Linked DNA regions of Homo sapiens: all the other regions are linked to region 2. Evidence: promoter capture Hi-C in 16 types of primary human blood cells and fetal thymus (Javierre and others, 2016). All regions are on one chromosome and are shown on one strand. Each heading gives the region's core, a stretch centred on a gene start or on the middle of the fragment in contact. The rest is flanking DNA. Distances are from core to core; before and after follow the strand shown. Region 1 overlaps CCDC141 (coiled-coil domain containing 141). Region 2 holds the start of CCDC141 (coiled-coil domain containing 141). Region 3 overlaps CCDC141 (coiled-coil domain containing 141).

Region 1 (3,560 bases), core at 919-3,418, 140 kb before region 2:
AGAAGGAGGGAATGATATATCAAGGACAAAGATAGCCCATAATGAGAATCAAAATAGTCAAATTATCTTCCAGAGCTTTTTCTCAAATGTGTAAGGAAAATATTTACTATAAATTGTTCTGTGTATCACACTTAATAGAACTACAGCAGTAGAAAGGAGGTAAGTGATTTTACTCCTTCATTAGCTCAACAAATACATTTGTAGAATACCTATTGGTACGATGGGCTGGATACTGACCTCAATCCTAACCAACCCGTAATAGGAATAATCTGCAGACATAGAAATAAGAGTTAAATTTCTGGACTTTAACAGGAAGCTACTTTCAAGAAGACTGTACTGTCTGTGATTGTCTGAATTATACACAAAGCTCATCTCTCTTATTCCCATGCAGAATTTGCCAGTTCCATGTGCCAGTTCCAGAAATGATCTAAGTATCATTGCTCTCACTTAATCTACCCTCAAAATAGAACTGAGTGCTTTTCTATTTACCATACCCATAAAGAACCTGATATATCGGACCCAGCCTGGAAAGACTCCCTTTGTTGCACACACAGTACAGAACATATTATTTCTGGCAATAAGAACACTGTGACCCCCATGTAAACTCCTTTGGAAGCAGTGTTTTCCCTTTGGTCTTTTTTCCTTCATATATCTCTCTTCAAACCTTATACGTGCAAGTCAAATAAAGCTACTATGACTGGATTGGGAAAAAAGGATATAGGACAAGGATAATATTTTATCCCTCTGGTTCCTAGCTCTTCTTGAACATTTTATATGTACTATTCAGTTTTTAGGCAGATAAGAAGATGAATCAGCTCTTTTCGGTCTTGTTTTGGTAAAGACTAAGGAGTTGCTTGGTGTTTGTTCTTTACAAAACCAATAAAGACCTTTCCTTTTTCACTTGTTTAGTACAGGACCCAAGGCAGCCTGCACCAAATCAAATAGAGATAGTATCAGGACATGGCACATTTCATTCTTTTAAAAATATCTGCAAGACGAATTCAAACAAGAGCCGTGAGTCATCTAGCAGAATTCTATCATGCTGTTTCACAAAGGTGTTTAATAAGTAATGTTGTTTGCTTCTTGACTAATCAACTTGAAGAGAGTCAACATTAAACACGAACAACAACAGAAAGAAAACAGCAGAACCTAGAAAATTTCCTTCCACGAGTCTAGTGGCTGGAGAGAGTTTTGTTGGAATGCTTATAACTATCAAAAACACAAAACTCAGCTAAGTGCTGAGTTGAGTCTAATTAGTGCTTCTAATTAGAGCACCAGATTCCATTACCTGTAGAGATTCAGATTTCCCTTAGGTTCTGTTACAAAGACCAAAAGCTTCAGTTTCCTTTCCTACACATCACCTGAGAGAACTTCTGGTGGTTCCCACTCTGGGGAACTGATTCCTAATTCAGGTCCTCCCCACATCTGCCCAAGCTTTCAAATGCCCTGAAGGCCAGAATATAGGGGTGATGTGATTTTTAAGCTCCCAATATTTGCTGTCCTCTGCTGCAGCTCCAGCTTATTCCTTGCCTGTCAAAGGCAGTTGCTGCTGGACCTCAGAGCTCCCTCCTTGTTCCAGGGTGAATTCATGGTATTAATGAGAGGTATTAAATGCCATTAGCACCTATGGAAGCTTTTGTCTCATAATCTGGAAAGCTGAGAAAACACTGGAATAAAAGAGGTTTGGGATTGAAAGTGGTATGTATCTGAAGCATTTTATCAACAAGGAATGGAGGAAGTTTATGCATTGACCATCTCTTGTTCTGAGGAATACAACTAGACCCATTCAATAGCACTTTAGGCAGCTAGTCACTATTTATAATTTCTGTTTTCTTTTCTCTAAGTTGACCTAAATGACTTTAAGATGATCTTGGGAATATTAATGTAGAAAATGTCCATTTATAATGTGTAAAGCACTTATTTTTACACTTATTCAAAAAACATTGAAATTTATGGACTATGTACTCAGCTACGTGCTGGGAATGTGAAAATGAACAAAAGCATTACATCACATTAGAGATATAAAGACAAAATACTGCCTAGCAATTAGTGAGTGCTTAGCAGTTCTGTGCTGTAGCCACGTATTAACTTACTTAGACAGCACAATGTCCTTGTAAGGTACCAATAGTACTTCTATTTTACAGGTTAAAAAAGCCAATGCACAGGGAAGTTAAGTGACTGCCCAAGGTCATAGAGCTAATAAATGTCCAAGATCAGATTCATACTCAGGCATTCTGGCTCCAAAATCTACTGTTATTTTGGCAAAGTGTAATGCTAGCAAACATTTCTAATTTTCACTTAATACCCTACAATTCCATTTATTTTACACTCCAACTGTATCCCAAAAAGAGTGTGTACAATTTATCACCAACTATAAGAACTTTTATTATTGAATGAGACTCTCTGAAGTAGATGAGGAATATTAGACTGATTTTATAAAAGAGAAAACTCAAGCTCAAAATGTAAATTGATTTGTCACATGGCCAGTCATTTATTCATTCATCCGACAAAAGTTTTTTGAACCTATGTGACACACAAAGAAGATTAGGACACAATCTCTCTCTAAGGCATACAGAGAAATATTATGGAAATGATACAAAACAAGCAATTAGTGCTGCCTGGAGATGTCTCAGAGGAGGCACTATGTGTAGATGACAAGCCCTTTACACAGCAAGACCTGCCTTCTCAGATATGATGCAGAGATGAAGCTTAAAATTTGTGTTCCTTGTATATTAAAGTAATTAAATTATCTTCTTTCAAAATGGTCAAGTCCCAAGTACCTTGGATCAATATAATCTCCTATGAACAATTTCATGTAGTTGGCCTTGAAACTCTACAGTTTATAATATTTCACTGCTCTTAGTCATTCAAATAATTATTGAACACCCACTAACTAGAAGTCACTGTTCTAGGTGTTCTGGTGAACACAAAGTGAAAAGGACATGTTTCTTACCCTCAAGAAATTTTAATTTAGCAAAAGAAATCTACCCAGAAATAAATATCTATAATACTAAGCAGAATGTGCTTACTGCCAACAGAGAGATGCAACAATCTGATACTGCACATAGAAGAGAAACCAATTAATACACTCTTACGTTAGAAATCCATTGACAGCTTAAATGTGAAAGGTATTCATGAGTGAGGACAATAAAATTGAATGTCTTGATTATCAGACTATTAGATATGAACTGAGTTGTGAGCTCTCATGAGACACTTAAGATGTTAAAGATGTTTCTTTTTCTATAATTTTTCTATGATATATCTATTTTAATAATTGTATGCTAATAATGTAGCCATATTTATCAAATACTTGCTGTGGTTTAAACAGCCTGACCTCTGAGCTCTAAAATCAAAGGTTTCTAAACACTACACTCATCACTCTGTCATAGGGAGTACAGGAAGAGGGTAAATTAAGACATCATCTGTTTCTTGTGGTGAGGTTTGCATCATCATGACTTTTTCAATTCTTAAATATCTCTGCATATATAAAGACATGTTCAGCATAAAATAGAAACTCCTTAGCATGCTATTCAAAATGCTTCCTGATCTCCCCACCTGCT
Region 2 (3,305 bases), core at 760-3,259:
GAAGCAACAACTCATTAAGCAAAATGAACCACTAACACGCATACGCATGTAGATACCTGAATTACTAAAGAGAAATTAGAAAAATGTATTTCTATTTTAGAATATATTCAGTCCCCTGAGACAGTTTGGACAGTCACTATAAATCACACACAGGCACTTCCATTCCATTAAGGTGGACTTTATACTCTGAATTGCTTGGGGTGTATTTTGTATGGAGATGGCAGTAAGGTAAGAGGGCTGAGGAGAGGGTAGTGGGGGAACATTCTTAGAAACACAATTCAGTTAAAATAAGAGTTTCCAGTGTAATTTTCCAGTGTAATTTCCAGTGTAATTTTTTTGTGTTCAATCTACCTCTGATTCTTCTGTAATTTATCCTCTAATATTATTCCTCATCCTGCTCCAAGAATGTTCATATTTGAGGAAATGGAAAGTTAACTTTTTGAAAAATAGTGAGTTTGCCTCTTTTCCCTCATTGCTGAAATCTGCAGTTAACTCAAAGTATCATTAATCCCGTGCAAATGATCTGTTTGCCCTACTTCTGCATCAGGCTTCTTTTCATCTCCTCTCTGGGACTCTGAAAAGATGGGAGGGTGAGGAAGTCAGCAGAGGCCTGGTTCCTGTGGGAGAGAAGTCTCACAACACCAGAAAATCCACCTCGGCAGGAATACTTTCCATTCTGTCCTTCTATAGTGAACTGTTTTGCTCAGTATCAAGTGCTCTTTTCCTGGTATGAATTTTCACATTACCATAAAATTCACAGCAATTAAGTTAAAGTAAACATGGCTTGCTGTCCATGCTCTAACAAAAGGCCAGAAAAGTCATTCAATTAAACCTGGTGGGGACCTGAAAGTAACTGGTTTGTGACCATCAGCTTGTTTGCCAGCTTTCCCTTCATTAAACACTGAATTATTTAGGTGGAATATCATCTAAAGCCCAAGCCTAGTGCTTGAAAGCTTTTTTTTACAGGGCATTTCCATGGAGAATAAAATCATGGAGTTCTTCTTCAGCCTAAAGATGTGTGGTCATCTTTGCAAATGGGCAAATGGGTTGTCATAAAACATGCAGTAATTGTAAACCCTAAGTGGCTTCTACTTCCTGCTGTTAAGAGCAAATTTGACACAAAGCTTTTGTACCTTTCCTTGCATGGTCTTCGTTACTGGACAAGGATTTAGTAGTTTCTTTACCATGTCAAAACCAGTGTGGCAAAGGGCACATGTCGGAGCCCTTTACTTGGTGTTTTCTGAGTTCCATCGTGCTTAAAGCAGTGCCCTCCCCCTGTCTGTCGGGACCTGCCTCCTCCCACCTCCATCACATCCACTCTCAAAAATCACAAGCATTCCACAGGTCCATTGGACTCTTTAGTCAGGCAATCATGAACTTCCAGTTACCAATGCCTTGCTTTTAAAGACCAAATTGACAGTATATGCTAGAGGTTTTCTTTTCTTTATTTTTCTTTCTTTTCTTTTTTTTTTTTTTTTTAAATCAAGCTGCTATAGATGCTTTCTGGCTGACTGAAAGGAAAGAGAATCTCTGGTAACTGCTGAAACTTGTAGAGGTTTCTCTTAGTAGCCCATTTTAGAAAGCAGTAAGAGTGCTTGCTGCGTTGTCTTCTCTATGCTGTGTCCTGCCGATTGCATGGAATGTTCTTTAGGGTTTTCAACACACAGCTAGAAGCCCACAGCCGCACAGAAAAAAGGAAGTTGTTAGCTTACCTTTATGACAGCTATAACGATTTTGGAGTCCCCAGCCTGCACAGCAACTGAACTGACTGTCGTCGTAGAAAGCGCAACACTAGGACTTCCTTGGCTGGACATGGTACTTTAGAACCAGAGTTTATACTTTGGGCAGCCTCTGGACAGTTGTGTGTCTGCTGGTCATTTCAGAAGGCCAGGGTTACTTGGATTCATTCAGGGAAAGAGCTCAGCTCACACTGATTACTCTGCCAAAAGGAAAGAACAGGAGGTTAAAAATAGACAACCCCATTGAGTTTATCGTGAGAGAGAAAGGAGCGAACGAGAGAGAATTGCCACGCCCCTAGTATGGTGACACTAAGTGCCTGTTATTTTTGCTGTTATCTTAAATGTGGAGGACAGCTTCAAGCTCTTTCCTTATCAGCTGATGTTTGATAACAAATGGAAAAAAAAATTACATCCTGACAACCCAAATTAGTTTTGCCACCGAAACTATGCCATTGTAACCATGGACTTTGAAACAAGTAAGTCTTTGACCTGGTTATCAATCTTTTCAAGATTTTTGAAATCTCTCTGATGCAAAGAGAACTACCAAAGTGTACTTTAAAAAAGTTTTGGTATTTGTCTTGGGGTTAAGTCACAAATTGCTTAAAACACATTTTTAGATTAATCTGCTTTTCTAAAACTTACTGTTCTTTGCTAAATGAAGTTTAGATGGAATAGCCACATTTTCTCAGAGCCTCAGATTTCTTAGGAATTTTTAAAAAATATTTCAACCAGCATTTATAAATAGGTGCCTATCATTTCAGATTTTCTTTGTGACTATTCTGCTCCATTGGACAAGGTTTTCAAGTTCAGTTATTAATACCATGAGAAAGCAAAATACTTTGCTGTTACCTTTTAATTGCAGCAAGAAAATGTTTTCTGTGTGGTTAAAAGTTATTAAGACATATATTTTGCTGCAATTAAAAACAAAAACAAAAAGGAAAGTACTGTGCTTCAGGCTTTTTATTCCCTACCCCCACCTCCTGTTCAGGAAAATTATAGCCAGCTTCAAATCAGTGCCCCACATTGGTAGATTAATCCTATTGCTAGAAACTCAGCCTGTGTCACAAGTTGTCTGTGGTATTAAACAGCAGCTGTTGGATTCCCTGTCAAAGAACAGCTGAAAATAACACTAAAGTTTAGGTCAGAAGTCAGATGCAAACATATCAGAGTTACTAACTCCAAAGCTGCTGGAAGCATTGGAAATCTCTGGGACAAAGCCACAACAGAGAATATAGCAAAAAACAGTTTTAATGAATCCACTTGCTCTGTAAACCTTTTAGCCCAATTTAATAGTAGGTTCAGGTTCAGGGCCAATGTTTAGAAGACTGAGTCAGCTCCATTGCTTTGTTTTGCTAAGGTTCATGATCATATTCTTGATTCAAAGGGGAAAAGTACTTTTACACATACTTCAGTGTTCAATTATTTTTGTTTCCAAGAGCATGTCATGGCTGCTCTGCAGCTGTGTAGCCACCACCCATGTCCTCTGCGCTCAGCATCTGCCTGCTGCCCCAGTGAGATGGAAACCATACCTAGATCCTAGTCCCTATGCAACACGAACTTCACCTG
Region 3 (3,550 bases), core at 992-3,491, 150 kb before region 2:
AGACTGTGAAAGCTTCTTCAGGCATTTGTTAGAAACTCCAAATGAGAACATTCTCTCCCTTATTCATTGAGCCAATAGAGGGAAGTGGAGGGGGAAGAAAAATAATTGCTTTTTTTTTTTTTCTCAAAGAGCACAGACGTATTGACTTCTGGTTCAAGAATAGACTGCTCTATTTACTGTATGGAAGCAGTTGCCCTATCTTTGCATTTGTTGTAAATTGGGGCTGGAGGAGGGAAGCAAATTCCAATGTTAATGTGTTCTAATGATTATTTCTGAAGAATGGCAAGTTGCTTTCAAACCTTTCATAAATTACTATTGTCAGCCCATCTGGATTAGGAGCTGAACCAGATGGTAAGCACTTGACAGCTTACTCTGTCTCATTGGGAGGGATCAGCTGACCATATTTTTCTTTTTGTCTATGGACAAATTATACTTTAAAGATGGAAAAAAATCTTCCTTATCTTTAGCTTGCTGCTTCTTTTAATGGGAACCCGAAGAGTGTCTTTTTATGTTTATGGTTGTCTTTATTTTTGAGGAAACAACTGCTGCTCTCTAGTTTTCATCCCTACTTTGAAAAAGTGCCATTTATACTGTAGAAGTGAAATGCATATGTTTCTACAATAAATTTGATTCTTATTTAAGCTATATACTTTGAAAATTTCTCCCACCAAACATTTCTCTCTCTCTCACACACACACACACACACACACGCACACACACACACACACACACACACAATGTTTTATGTATAGATAACAAAGTAGAAACAGAAAGCAGTAAGTGTGGCTGAAGCTACAGGGCACCTGGGTTCTTGTTCAGATGCATGTAGAGATGGCTAGAAGTTCCATTTCTATGAGGCCATAGAGACCAACATATATGTCCTATGTGAAGGGTACCATTGCTAGGATTCTTCCTGAAATCAGTAGCAGAGCTGAAATTCTCTGCCCTCATTAGGGGAGGCTGAAAATGCTGCAGCCAACAGCTATGAGGGCCATGGAATTAAACATGGCAGAGCCATCAGGAACCACCTCAAGCCCTCTTCTGGTTTCCTGACTGCATCTTCAAGAGCCACAATATCTCCACAGACGCTTGTGTGACCCTGATCAAATAACAGAAGTACATTTTGATGCTGGACTGAAGGTCCTATGAGTCCAGGTGGTCACTGCAAAGCTGCTAAGGAGGAAAGAGCAAAGAGAGAAGCAAGCAAGCAAAAGAAAGTCAAAGAAAAAAACCCTCCCACTCCAAATGAGAGTGCAATCCAAAATCTCAAAACACATGAAGAAAAGCAAATCCAAGATATGTTCAACAACCAAGAGATAAATGTACTCTAGCTGTAAAGAAAATAAGTACAGCAATCTGACAATGACTTTAAAGTAAATGCCTGAGATCATCAGAGAGATTAAAAAAACCCAACACCCACAATAAAAGACCAAGAAACTTTGAAACAAAAAGTCAGAAATAAAACAAAATTAGACACACAAAAAAATTAGAAATCACAGAAATGAAAACAATATATTTTCTAAAATAAGAAATCAATGAATGAAAACAAAGGGAAAAAGGAAAAAAGAGAAAATACCCTGAGGACCCATGGAGAGTGCAACACAGAGAGTTAAAATAGTGAAAAAATACCAAAGACAGGTAAGAGACTGCAAAGAGACCAAGAGGCTCCAACATTCTTCTAATAGAAGGTATAGAAGAGAAAAAAAAGGTAATAGCAGAAAAGTAATATTTAAAAAGATACTTGCTGAAATTTTCTCATAATTTGCGACATAATACTGAGATTAAAAGGGCACAGCAAGAGCTAAACAGATAAATGCACACATTTGAGATTATTTGGAAAACATAAAAATATCTTTTAATGTATTTCCTTCCAAAAAGACTTTCTTTTTGGTAGTCCCCTGGCCCTCCTCACCTACTCTACCCCACATTAGTATTATGCCTTATAGAGAAATTGGGTCCCACTTGTACCTGCTTACCGTTATATTGTGAGGATACTCTGTCTTAAAATATTCTTCAAAAAACTATTTGATATGGACTTAGAATATTCCATTATGTGCTTTCCCTTAAACTATTCAAACATTTCCCTAGTTTCTGGAAATATTTAGCTGGTTTTCGGGTTTGCACTATTATAAATAGCACTGTGATGAGCATCTTATTCATAAATATGTCCCCTCACATCTCTTCCTGTCTCTTTTCTTTGTCCTCTTCTCCCTAAACCCTGTAATATGAGAGGAGTCCTCAATCACCCAGGGCAGGGATTTCTGCCTCTTTAGTCAGCCTTCCTCTGGAGGTTCTGTAGGTCCAGATCTTTTTACTCTGGGATCTTTGCTACTTCACATCATCAGCATTATAAATGAATACATTCATATTGCCGTGATAAAGATACTTTATGAGAACCTAGTGTAGTTAATCCTGGATTTAATGGGAAGTGTGAGCTTTTGGTACTTTCCACACTAAGAGTTTTAGAATGATAAAATCCTTAACGGTGTTAACAAGCCAGGATTGCAGTTATGACATTTACCCAGCCTCTAAAAAGAACAGCTTAATATAGACATGAAAATATTTGGAAAGTGGCTGGGTTGACTGTCATAAGAACTCAACTTTGTAATTTCCTAAATTTCACTATCTGACATTTACCATCTAAATGCATCATCAAAGTCTTTTAAAAGCAGTTATTTTTAAGTTCTTAAATGCTTAGTACAGTTCATATAAAATGCAGGCATAGACAAATCTACTAGGCAAAGGAAATGTGTTTGTCTTGTTGGAGAATGGAGATTGTTTTTGTTTGTTAAGATCTTTGTAAATATTTTCACTGTGTTAAGGGCTTTCCTTCAATGTCATGCCAGCCCCTTAACATAAGGTAAAAAAGAGGTTTCTTGGGTGGTTTCAGCCCTGAGTTGATATCATGGTCTGAATGAGGACATGATACTGTCACAAATGAAATAACTAAAGAATGATTCAGCCCAGCCCAGAATGAAAAGTGGAGCCATGAGATAGACGTGACAAACAAAAAGGAATTCAAGAAACTATTATGTGGCAGGTATTGATTCAGTTCATCTTGGCTCGAAGATGTAGACCCTTCACCCATCTCAGCCTACCAAATACAGCAACTGTTCATAGCCCTCTCAGATTTCACCCTTTCATTTGGCCTGTCTTGATCTCAGACTTTCGGATTGTGTCTCCCTTCTCTGAAGAAGTGACCGCAACATCCACTGTACTCATGGGCCCCTCGTGCCTGGAGCACACTTCCTTGATGTGCAGCTCCCTGACTGGACGCGGGACAGGTTCTGGGGATTTGGGGTCAGTTTTATATGGCTTTGATTGTCCCTGAGGCCTGGTGCTGGTATGCCATATAAGATGCTCATATGTACATTTGATAACTTCCTAAATGAACTGAAAGAAAGAAAAACTTTGCAGAGAAGTTGGGACTTGAGCTGAAGCTAGAAGCTAGAGTAAATTTTAAGTGCACTAAAATATATATTTTTAAAAAAGGATCTATGTTCATTTAGCCAACAGGCTTCTTGTTATTGATTAAAGCTGAATGAAAGGA

The links. Contacts are between HindIII fragments. The CHiCAGO score rates a contact against its expected background, and 5 or more counts as called.
Region 1: a contact is called between a fragment that was not itself captured here and the fragment with the promoter of CCDC141 in region 2, in 3 of 17 cell types (naive CD8 T cells, non-activated CD4 T cells and naive B cells). The highest score is 5.5, in naive CD8 T cells.
Region 3: a contact is called between a fragment that was not itself captured here and the fragment with the promoter of CCDC141 in region 2, in 3 of 17 cell types (naive CD4 T cells, total CD4 T cells and total B cells). The highest score is 5.5, in naive CD4 T cells.

Annotation. Positions count from the first base shown.
Region 1 is chr2:178,909,213-178,912,772 of GRCh38, forward strand. All of the region lies in intron 7 of CCDC141 (coiled-coil domain containing 141), which reads right to left. The region is part of intron 2 of LOC105373766 (a long non-coding RNA gene); the gene reads left to right. Among named protein-coding and RNA genes, the nearest start is that of TTN, 100 kb to the left of the region's middle. The HindIII fragment of the contact is 1,075 bases long and covers 1,632-2,706 here.
Region 2 is chr2:179,048,128-179,051,432 of GRCh38, forward strand. CCDC141 (coiled-coil domain containing 141) reads right to left here and starts at 2,010. Exons shown (of 24, transcript NM_173648.4): 1 at 1,713-2,010. The coding sequence starts at 1,814. RefSeq lists enhancers at 1,507-1,556, 1,747-1,996, 2,007-2,086. The HindIII fragment of the contact is 6,980 bases long and covers 1,123-3,305 here.
Region 3 is chr2:178,893,113-178,896,662 of GRCh38, forward strand. The region is part of intron 8 of CCDC141 (coiled-coil domain containing 141); the gene reads right to left. The region is part of intron 1 of LOC105373766 (a long non-coding RNA gene); the gene reads left to right. Among named protein-coding and RNA genes, the nearest start is that of TTN, 87 kb to the left of the region's middle. The HindIII fragment of the contact is 4,463 bases long and covers 11-3,550 here.